Linked DNA regions of Homo sapiens: regions 2 and 3 are each linked to region 1. Evidence: promoter capture Hi-C in 16 types of primary human blood cells and fetal thymus (Javierre and others, 2016). All regions are on one chromosome and are shown on one strand. The core of a region is centred on a gene start or on the middle of the fragment in contact, and the rest is flanking DNA. Distances in the headings are between cores, read along the strand shown.

Region 1 (2,700 bases), core at 158-2,657:
GAACTATAGGCGCGTGCCACCATGCCCAGCTAATTTTCGTATTTTTAGTAGATACGGGGTTTCACCACGTTAGCCAGGCTGGTCTTGAGCTCCTGACCTCAAGTGATCCGCCCGTCTCGGACTCCCACAGTTTTGGGATTACAGGCGTAAGCCACCGTGCCCGGCCTATTTTTAAATTTTTTATTTTTAGTGTTTTTTCCCCTCCCTTGCAATTTATGTTTCCTCTCATTTGCTTTTCCCTTCTTGTTTGTTTCTTACTTGTATATTAAAGTCCTTCCTTAAATGTCTAATGATCTCTGGCTATTTATTTTGAAGAGTAAGAACACTAAAAAGCTGATTGGAAAGTGGAATGAGGGCTGGGGCACGTAGGCCAAAGTGTTACATGTGGAATTCATTCTAGTTATCTATATCATTAAGAGAACTCTGATAAGGGTATCTTTGGGATTTTTCGTTTTGGCTGGTGAGATTCCCCAGAGAGGGTTTTCCAAAGGTATAATCAGCCTCTTGTTTACCTTTGTTTCGTAATAAATATTCTCAAGTTTGCTAAACCAGTTAACATTCTTCTGTTTGATTTCCAGCTTCCAAAATGTTGCTGTTGTTGTCTCCTTTCCCTTTCTTACGGCCTGGAGAGTAATACATAATTTCACCTTAACTGGAAGCCCATGTATGCATGTATGTATGTATGTATGTATGTATGTATGTATGTATGTATGTACGTACTTATTTGAGACGGGGTTTCGCTGTGTTGCGCAGGCTGCACTTGAACTCCTGGGCTCAGGAGATCCTCCTGCCTCAGCCTCCGGAGTAGCTGATACCACAGGTGCGTGCCACCACGTCTGGCTGCCCGCATTATTTCTCTAGGATTTTTACTGGAGGTCATTTTACTGGAGGTCAACTGCAGGATCGTATAGGAAGGTTTTGACACAAATTTTCTGATTGCCTCAAAGCAATATGTATATATGAAAAGAGGTAAGCGTCCGTATAATAATTGTTTGTTTTGCAACAAGCATTTAATAACTTTCACCGGCACTGCGCACGCTACCTATCTGCCTCAATACTCCGCCCGGCGGTGGGCAGGATATAATGCAAGAGACGTCTGAAAAAGCAATGAGATGCGCATGACAGCTGGGCGAAGACAGAGGGCAAACTTAAAAGGACCAAGCGCATAGACCACGCCTCTGAAATTGGGGAACGAGGAGGGGTTTGATCTTGTCGATGATTGGCTGGTCTCTGACCAATCACGGACAGCGATTGATATTTCTAATCGTCGTGATCCACCTCCCCAGGACCTTGGAGCCACGTTTACAAATAGGAATAGGGTACGTGGGAGGGATAGAACGTACAGCCAATAAAATCATGTGGCGCCGATGGGCGTGTTGAGGCCGCTGCCTGGCTTAGGGCGGAAACAGATTCTCTGCATAAGAAGGGGAACGAAAGATGGCGGCGGAAACGCTGCTGTCCAGTTTGTTAGGACTGCTGCTTCTGGGACTCCTGTTACCCGCAAGTCTGACCGGCGGTGTCGGGAGCCTGAACCTGGAGGAGCTGAGTGAGATGCGTTATGGGATCGAGATCCTGCCGTTGCCTGTCATGGGAGGGCAGGTGAGAGGCGTATAAGGGGCGAGGGTCTGGGCAGAAGAGGAAGCGGGTAAGAGATAGAGGAAGAAGGGCAGCTCCGGAGTCTGGGGCTGGAGCCTACGGGGAATCGGGAAGAGTAGGTATTGCTTTTACGGTGACCCCTGGGGGTCGCAGACTGAGACCAATTCTCTGGGGGCCAGGAATTGGGAGAGGTGGGGCTTCCCGCTGTCAACCTTCAGGTCTCAGTTTATGATCGAAACACCCGGACTCCGCCCCCGTGGAGAAATGGGAGCGCCCTCTCCTCTCACCCACTAAATACAGCTGGAGGGCTTATGGCTTATTCTGTCTTCGACTGATCTCTTCCCCAGGGTTTGAAGAGGGATTTCGTTGTTCTCCCTGATCCCAGCCTTTCTTTGCTTCCTTGCCCCCCGACCCTCCCTTCTTTCCCAGAGCCAATCTTCGGACGTGGTGATTGTCTCCTCTAAGTACAAACAGCGCTATGAGTGTCGCCTGCCAGCTGGAGCTATTCACTTCCAGCGTGAAAGGGAGGAGGAAACACCTGCTTACCAAGGGCCTGGGATCCCTGAGTTGTTGAGCCCAATGAGAGATGCTCCCTGCTTGCTGAAGGTGAAAGGGACTGGGTTAGATAGAATGAGGGCTTGGAAACTAGCAGTTCATCCAAGAACTGGAGTCCACTGAATGAGGCAGGATCTAGGGGACCTGTAGTGGTTAAGAAGACCACTGGAGGAGTAGACAGATTACACGGACAGGAAAGAAGCAAAGAATCCTGCAACCACTGATGACACTTTGCTGAACGTAGGAGCAGGTTAGGATAGAAGATCTCAGAAAAGGGCTAAAGCAAGATTGAGGGTCTGCGTGGGGTAGGAGGAGTACTTCCTTAAGCCTACTTGCTAAAGTCACCCCCTGCCCTATCACTCTGCTCCAGTATCCTGTTTTATTTTCATCGTAGCACTTTTCATGATCTGAAATCATATTTACTGAATCAGTTTGTTTATTTTCGGTCTGATTCCCCGCATTAGAGTGTAAACTCCATGAGGTCAAAGAATTAATCTTGTTCACAGTTGTATTCCCAGTGGCCAGAACAGTGCCAGGAATGTTCAAGAA
Region 2 (2,700 bases), core at 13-2,512, 130 kb before region 1:
TCTTCTCAGCACCCCATTTCCTACCCGACCTATCTCCACCAGTACTCTTTCTCTACTGTCTCTTCCAGATGTCCTTGCTGGCTACAATGGCACCATTTTTGCTTATGGACAGACATCCTCAGGGAAAACACATACCATGGAGGTGAGGGTTCTGGCTTTGGTGGTTGAGGGGCTAGGAGTGTTAATGGAAGATCAGGGAATCTCAGTGGGGGAAGGTCTAGGAATCAAGGATTGCCTGGTCCAGAGGCAGATAGATGAGTACAGAGGATGAACTGAAGGGCAATATTAGGGGAAGTTTAATGGAATCCCTCCAACCCACTGCAGTGGATCATCCTTTCCACTACTCCAGTCTTCTTTTGATCGGGAAAAGCAATGGAAGTCCAAAGGGCTACTCAATTATCTCCTTGCTCCTCTAAAAGGCAGACATGGTGGTGACCATCTCCTAACTTAGGATGTTCTTCTTATTGACTCTTGCCTTGGTGTTCACCTGCATACATCTGAGTTGTCTCATTCTCCCTGAGCCCCAGCTTCACTCTCAAATACCTTCACTCGCCAGGGAAAGCTGCACGACCCTCAGCTGATGGGAATCATTCCTCGAATTGCCCGAGACATCTTCAACCACATCTACTCCATGGATGAGAACCTTGAGTTCCACATCAAGGTGACCAGGGCACGACAGCTGGGCATTCAGATGGGGACTGGGAGGGGAAGATCTAAAATCTTCCCACTGAAGAGCCTGGGCTCCCCAACTTGACTCCCTTTCCGGTTACCAGAGTTCTTTGTCAAGATGTTCTCTTCTGTTCTTTTCCTCCCACCACCGTTTGAGCAGGTCACATTAGTATGGGATTCCTGAACTAGATTTAAGATAGGCCCTCTTTACTTCACACTCCTTCTTTCTTCTTAACCAGGTTTCTTACTTTGAAATTTACCTGGACAAAATTCGTGACCTTCTGGATGGTGAGTGTTTTGTCCCAGTGGATGAGGGTGTGTGAGGAGGGTGGAGAAAAGAAAGCTCACATTGCATTTGGAATTAGGTACCAATTGACAAGAGATGCAGAGGGCACACAGCACCCAAGTCTTTTGGCCCCGTTTACCAGAATTTCCAAAAACTGAGAAGGTCAGGAGATGAGCTTAGCAGCCAAGGACTACATATAAACAGTTCGAGAGGATCTGGGGCCGAGGAGCAGGAGCCCTGAGGAGGAGAAGGAGGAGGAACTGAGCCTTCAGCTCGTGCAGGGAGTTTAGGCTTCACAGGGAGAGTCTTCCTTTAGCACAGAGAAGAAAACCACCATCTGAGCTGACTGCAAGGTGCAGATGGGGGCGGTGGAAGTACTAGTCTTGCTTACCCTGCATTCTTTTGATTCAGTGACCAAGACAAATCTGTCCGTGCACGAGGACAAGAACCGGGTGCCATTTGTCAAGGTGAGAGTGGGTGTGGGGCACCTATGTGGGGCCAGTGTATTGAGAATGTTGGTGGGGGAGGAGCATAGGTCAGTGACCCTGAAGTTGGAGGGTGGATATCCTGGAGGAATGAGATGTGCCTAGGGGCCAGGGAGAGTCTAGGGGATCAGAAAAGATACTGTCTTGGCTGGGCATGGTGGCTCATACCTGTAATCCCAGCACTTTGGGAGGCTGAGGTGGGTGGATCACTTGAGGCCGGGAGTTCAAGACCAGCCTGGCCAATATAGTGAAACCCCGTTTCTACTAAAAATACAAAAAATTAACTGGGCGTGGTGGCACATGCTTGTAATCCCAGCTATTTGGGACACTGAAGCAGGAGAATCTCTTGAACCTGGGAGGCAGAGGTTGCGGTGAGCCGAGATTGCGCCACTGCACTCCAGCCTGGGCGACAGAGTGAGAACCTGTCTTTAAAAAAAAAGAAGAAAAGAAAAGATACTGTCTTGAAAGGTCATTGGTCAGTGTGCATGCAATTTAATTTGCAAATCAAAGTTTACTGGAAGAAATGCCTGTAATCCCAACACTTTAGAAGGCTGAGGTGGGAGGATCACTTGAGGAGTTCAAGATCAGCCTGGCCAACATAGCAAGACCCGTCTCTCTTATTTAATCTAATTTTTTTTTTTTTTTTTTTTGGAGACAGAGTCTCACTCTGTTGCCCAGGCTGGAGTGCAGTGGCTCGACCTAGGGTCACTGCAACCTCCCTGTCCTGGGTTCAAACGATTCTCCTGCGTCAGGCTCCCGAGTAGCTGGGACTACAGGCATGTGCCACCACGCCTGGCTGATTTTAGTATTTTTAGTAGAGACGGGGTTTCACCATGTTGGCCAGGCTGGTCTCTAATTCCTGACCTCAGGTGATCCACCTGCCTCAGCCTCCCAAAGTGCTGGAATTACAGGCATGAGCCACTATGCTGAGTCTCTTGTTTAAAAAAAAAAAAAAATTTTTGTCAGGCATGGTGGCACACACCTGTAGTCCCAGCTACTCAGGAGGCTGAGGCGGGAGAATTGCTTGAGCTCAAGAGTTTGAGGTTGCAGTGAGCCATGATAGTGCCACTGCACTCCAGCCTGTGTAGTAGAGAGACAGTGGTTTTTTTTGTTTGTTTGTTTTTGTTTTTGGAGACAGATTCTCACTCTGTCACCCAGGCTGTAGTGCAATGGCATGATCTTGGCTCACTGCAACCTCTGCCTCCTGGGTTCAAGTGATTCTCCTGCCTCAGCCTCCCAAGCATATGGGATTATAGGTGC
Region 3 (2,700 bases), core at 68-2,567, 220 kb before region 1:
ACTGTCAGCCGCCGCTCCTCCCTGGCCTCTCCTTTCCCCCCTGGCTCCCCACCAGAGAATGGAGCATCCTCCCTGCCTGGCCTTATGCCTGCCCAGCACTACCTGCTTCGGGCAAGATATGCTTCAGCCAGAGGGGGTGGTACTTCGCCCACTGCAGCATCCAGCCTGGATCGGATAGGTGGTCTTCCCATGCCTCCTTGGAGAAGCCGAGCCGAGTATCCAGGATACAACCCCAATGCAGGGGTCACCCGGAGGGCCAGTGACCCAGCCCAGGCTGCTGACCGTCCTGCTCCAGCTAGAGTCCAGAGGTTCAAGAGCCTGGGCTGTGTCCATACCCCACCCACTGTGGCAGGGGGAGGACAGAACTTTGATCCTTACCTCCCAACCTCTGTCTACTCACCACAGCCCCCCAGCATCACTGAGAATGCTGCCATGGATGCTAGAGGGCTACAGGAAGAGCCAGAAGTTGGGACCTCCATGGTGGGCAGTGGTCTGAACCCCTATATGGACTTCCCACCTACTGATACTCTGGGATATGGGGGACCTGAAGGGGCAGCAGCTGAGCCTTATGGAGCGAGGGGTCCAGGCTCTCTGCCTCTTGGGCCTGGTCCACCCACCAACTATGGCCCCAACCCCTGTCCCCAGCAGGCCTCATATCCTGACCCCACCCAAGAAACATGGGGTGAGTTCCCTTCCCACTCTGGGCTGTACCCAGGCCCCAAGGCTCTAGGTGGAACCTACAGCCAGTGTCCTCGACTTGAACATTATGGACAAGTGCAAGTCAAGCCAGAACAGGGGTGCCCAGTGGGGTCTGACTCCACAGGACTGGCACCCTGCCTCAATGCCCACCCCAGTGAGGGGCCCCCACATCCACAGCCTCTCTTTTCCCATTACCCCCAGCCCTCTCCTCCCCAATATCTCCAGTCAGGCCCCTATACCCAGCCACCCCCTGATTATCTTCCTTCAGAACCCAGGCCTTGCCTGGACTTTGATTCCCCCACCCATTCCACAGGGCAGCTCAAGGCTCAGCTTGTGTGTAATTATGTTCAATCTCAACAGGAGCTACTGTGGGAGGGTGGGGGCAGGGAAGATGCCCCCGCCCAGGAACCTTCCTACCAGAGTCCCAAGTTTCTGGGGGGTTCCCAGGTTAGCCCAAGCCGTGCTAAAGCTCCAGTGAACACATATGGACCTGGCTTTGGACCCAACTTGCCCAATCACAAGTCAGGTTCCTATCCCACCCCTTCACCATGCCATGAAAATTTTGTAGTGGGGGCAAATAGGGCTTCACATAGGGCAGCAGCACCACCTCGACTTCTGCCCCCATTGCCCACTTGCTATGGGCCTCTCAAAGTGGGAGGCACAAACCCCAGCTGTGGTCATCCTGAGGTGGGCAGGCTAGGAGGGGGTCCTGCCTTGTACCCTCCTCCCGAAGGACAGGTATGTAACCCCCTGGACTCTCTTGATCTTGACAACACTCAGCTGGACTTTGTGGCTATTCTGGATGAGCCCCAGGGGCTGAGTCCTCCTCCTTCCCATGATCAGCGGGGCAGCTCTGGACATACCCCACCTCCCTCTGGGCCCCCCAACATGGCTGTGGGCAACATGAGTGTCTTACTGAGATCCCTACCTGGGGAAACAGAATTCCTCAACTCTAGTGCCTAAAGAGTAGGGAATCTCATCCATCACAGATCGCATTTCCTAAGGGGTTTCTATCCTTCCAGAAAAATTGGGGGAGCTGCAGTCCCATGCACAAGATGCCCCAGGGATGGGAGGTATGGGCTGGGGGCTATGTATAGTCTGTATACGTTTTGAGGAGAAATTTGATAATGACACTGTTTCCTGATAATAAAGGAACTGCATCAGAAAAAATACCATGCCACTTTATGTATTATTATGTTGGGGAGGAATGATAACAGGGAACAAGAAGAGAAGCAGGGGTTAATCCACTCACTTTCCTCTTTAGAGAAGCTCCCTCACCCATCCCAACACCTCAAGTCACACTCATGAAGATAGAGACAGTCATTTGGGAGATTTAAAGGGATATCCTCAAAACAGAACACCAGCCTCTCACCACCAGAGATGACCGGAAATATGTTTTCTCTTCTTCCTTCCCTGCATCAGGGGAAGAGGCTGGTGAAGTTGGTGAGCATCAGCTGGACCAGCTGCCCTGGGTAGAGAGCATGGGCTGCTGGGTCAGATGTCTCCTGCTCTGGCCGAAACAGGGTTGGTCCAAACACAATTCCCAGGTTGTGGGGTGTCATGCGATTCTTATCTGAGTGTGCTATCACCCTGTAAGCAAAGGCCAAGGAAGGGGATATATGGCAGCAGCTTGCCACTTCATAGCAATCTAACTAACCCTTCAAAGTTCTGAGCAGGGAAGAGTTCACTCTGGGATTCCTCCACATGGTAACAAAAAAACCAAGGAGATACAAGGAGAATGGAGATGGACCAGTGGAGAAACCTTCAGGATACAACCTGAAGATATAACTGCCTCTTCCGACTTCAGGGGCTGCCCCAAGAGTTCTGCCTGCTCACAGTTTGGGAGTCTTTAATTCAAGTGGCCATCCTCTCTCAGAAGTCACTGCCCAGGCCCAGTTCAACCAAAGAAGCCATCAGCAATGTCCCAATGGGAGACAAAGAGGCAGAGGGAAGGGAGAAGTAAGATTTCCCTTATTCCTTTCACAGCATCTTGGTTCCATT

What was found. The method cuts DNA at HindIII sites, captures the fragments that hold promoters and counts their contacts. A CHiCAGO score of 5 or more calls a contact.
Region 2: a fragment that was not itself captured here is called in contact with the fragment with the promoter of OS9 in region 1 in 2 of 17 cell types (M0 macrophages and M1 macrophages); the score reaches 5.3 in M0 macrophages.
Region 3: a fragment that was not itself captured here is called in contact with the fragment with the promoter of OS9 in region 1 in 1 of 17 cell types (total CD8 T cells); the score reaches 5.2 in total CD8 T cells.

Annotation. Positions count from the first base shown.
Region 1 is chr12:57,692,725-57,695,424 of GRCh38, forward strand. OS9 (OS9 endoplasmic reticulum lectin) reads left to right here and starts at 1,408. Exons shown (of 15, transcript NM_006812.4): 1 at 1,408-1,599; 2 at 2,026-2,202. The coding sequence starts at 1,438. RefSeq lists enhancers at 1,037-1,611, 1,599-1,648. The HindIII fragment of the contact is 11,057 bases long and covers 1-2,700 here.
Region 2 is chr12:57,563,552-57,566,251 of GRCh38, forward strand. KIF5A (kinesin family member 5A) reads left to right here. Exons shown (of 29, transcript NM_004984.4): 3 at 69-142; 4 at 557-661; 5 at 909-957; 6 at 1,367-1,422. Among named protein-coding and RNA genes, the nearest start is that of KIF5A, 15 kb to the left of the region's middle. The HindIII fragment of the contact is 4,556 bases long and covers 1-2,700 here.
Region 3 is chr12:57,470,400-57,473,099 of GRCh38, forward strand. GLI1 (GLI family zinc finger 1) reads left to right here. Exons shown (of 12, transcript NM_005269.3): 12 at 1-1,869. The coding sequence ends at 1,662. It overlaps ARHGAP9 (Rho GTPase activating protein 9), which reads right to left. Exons shown (of 18, transcript NM_032496.4): 18 at 1,870-2,289. The coding sequence ends at 2,118. Among named protein-coding and RNA genes, the nearest start is that of ARHGAP9, 8.1 kb to the right of the region's middle. The HindIII fragment of the contact is 4,786 bases long and covers 1-2,700 here.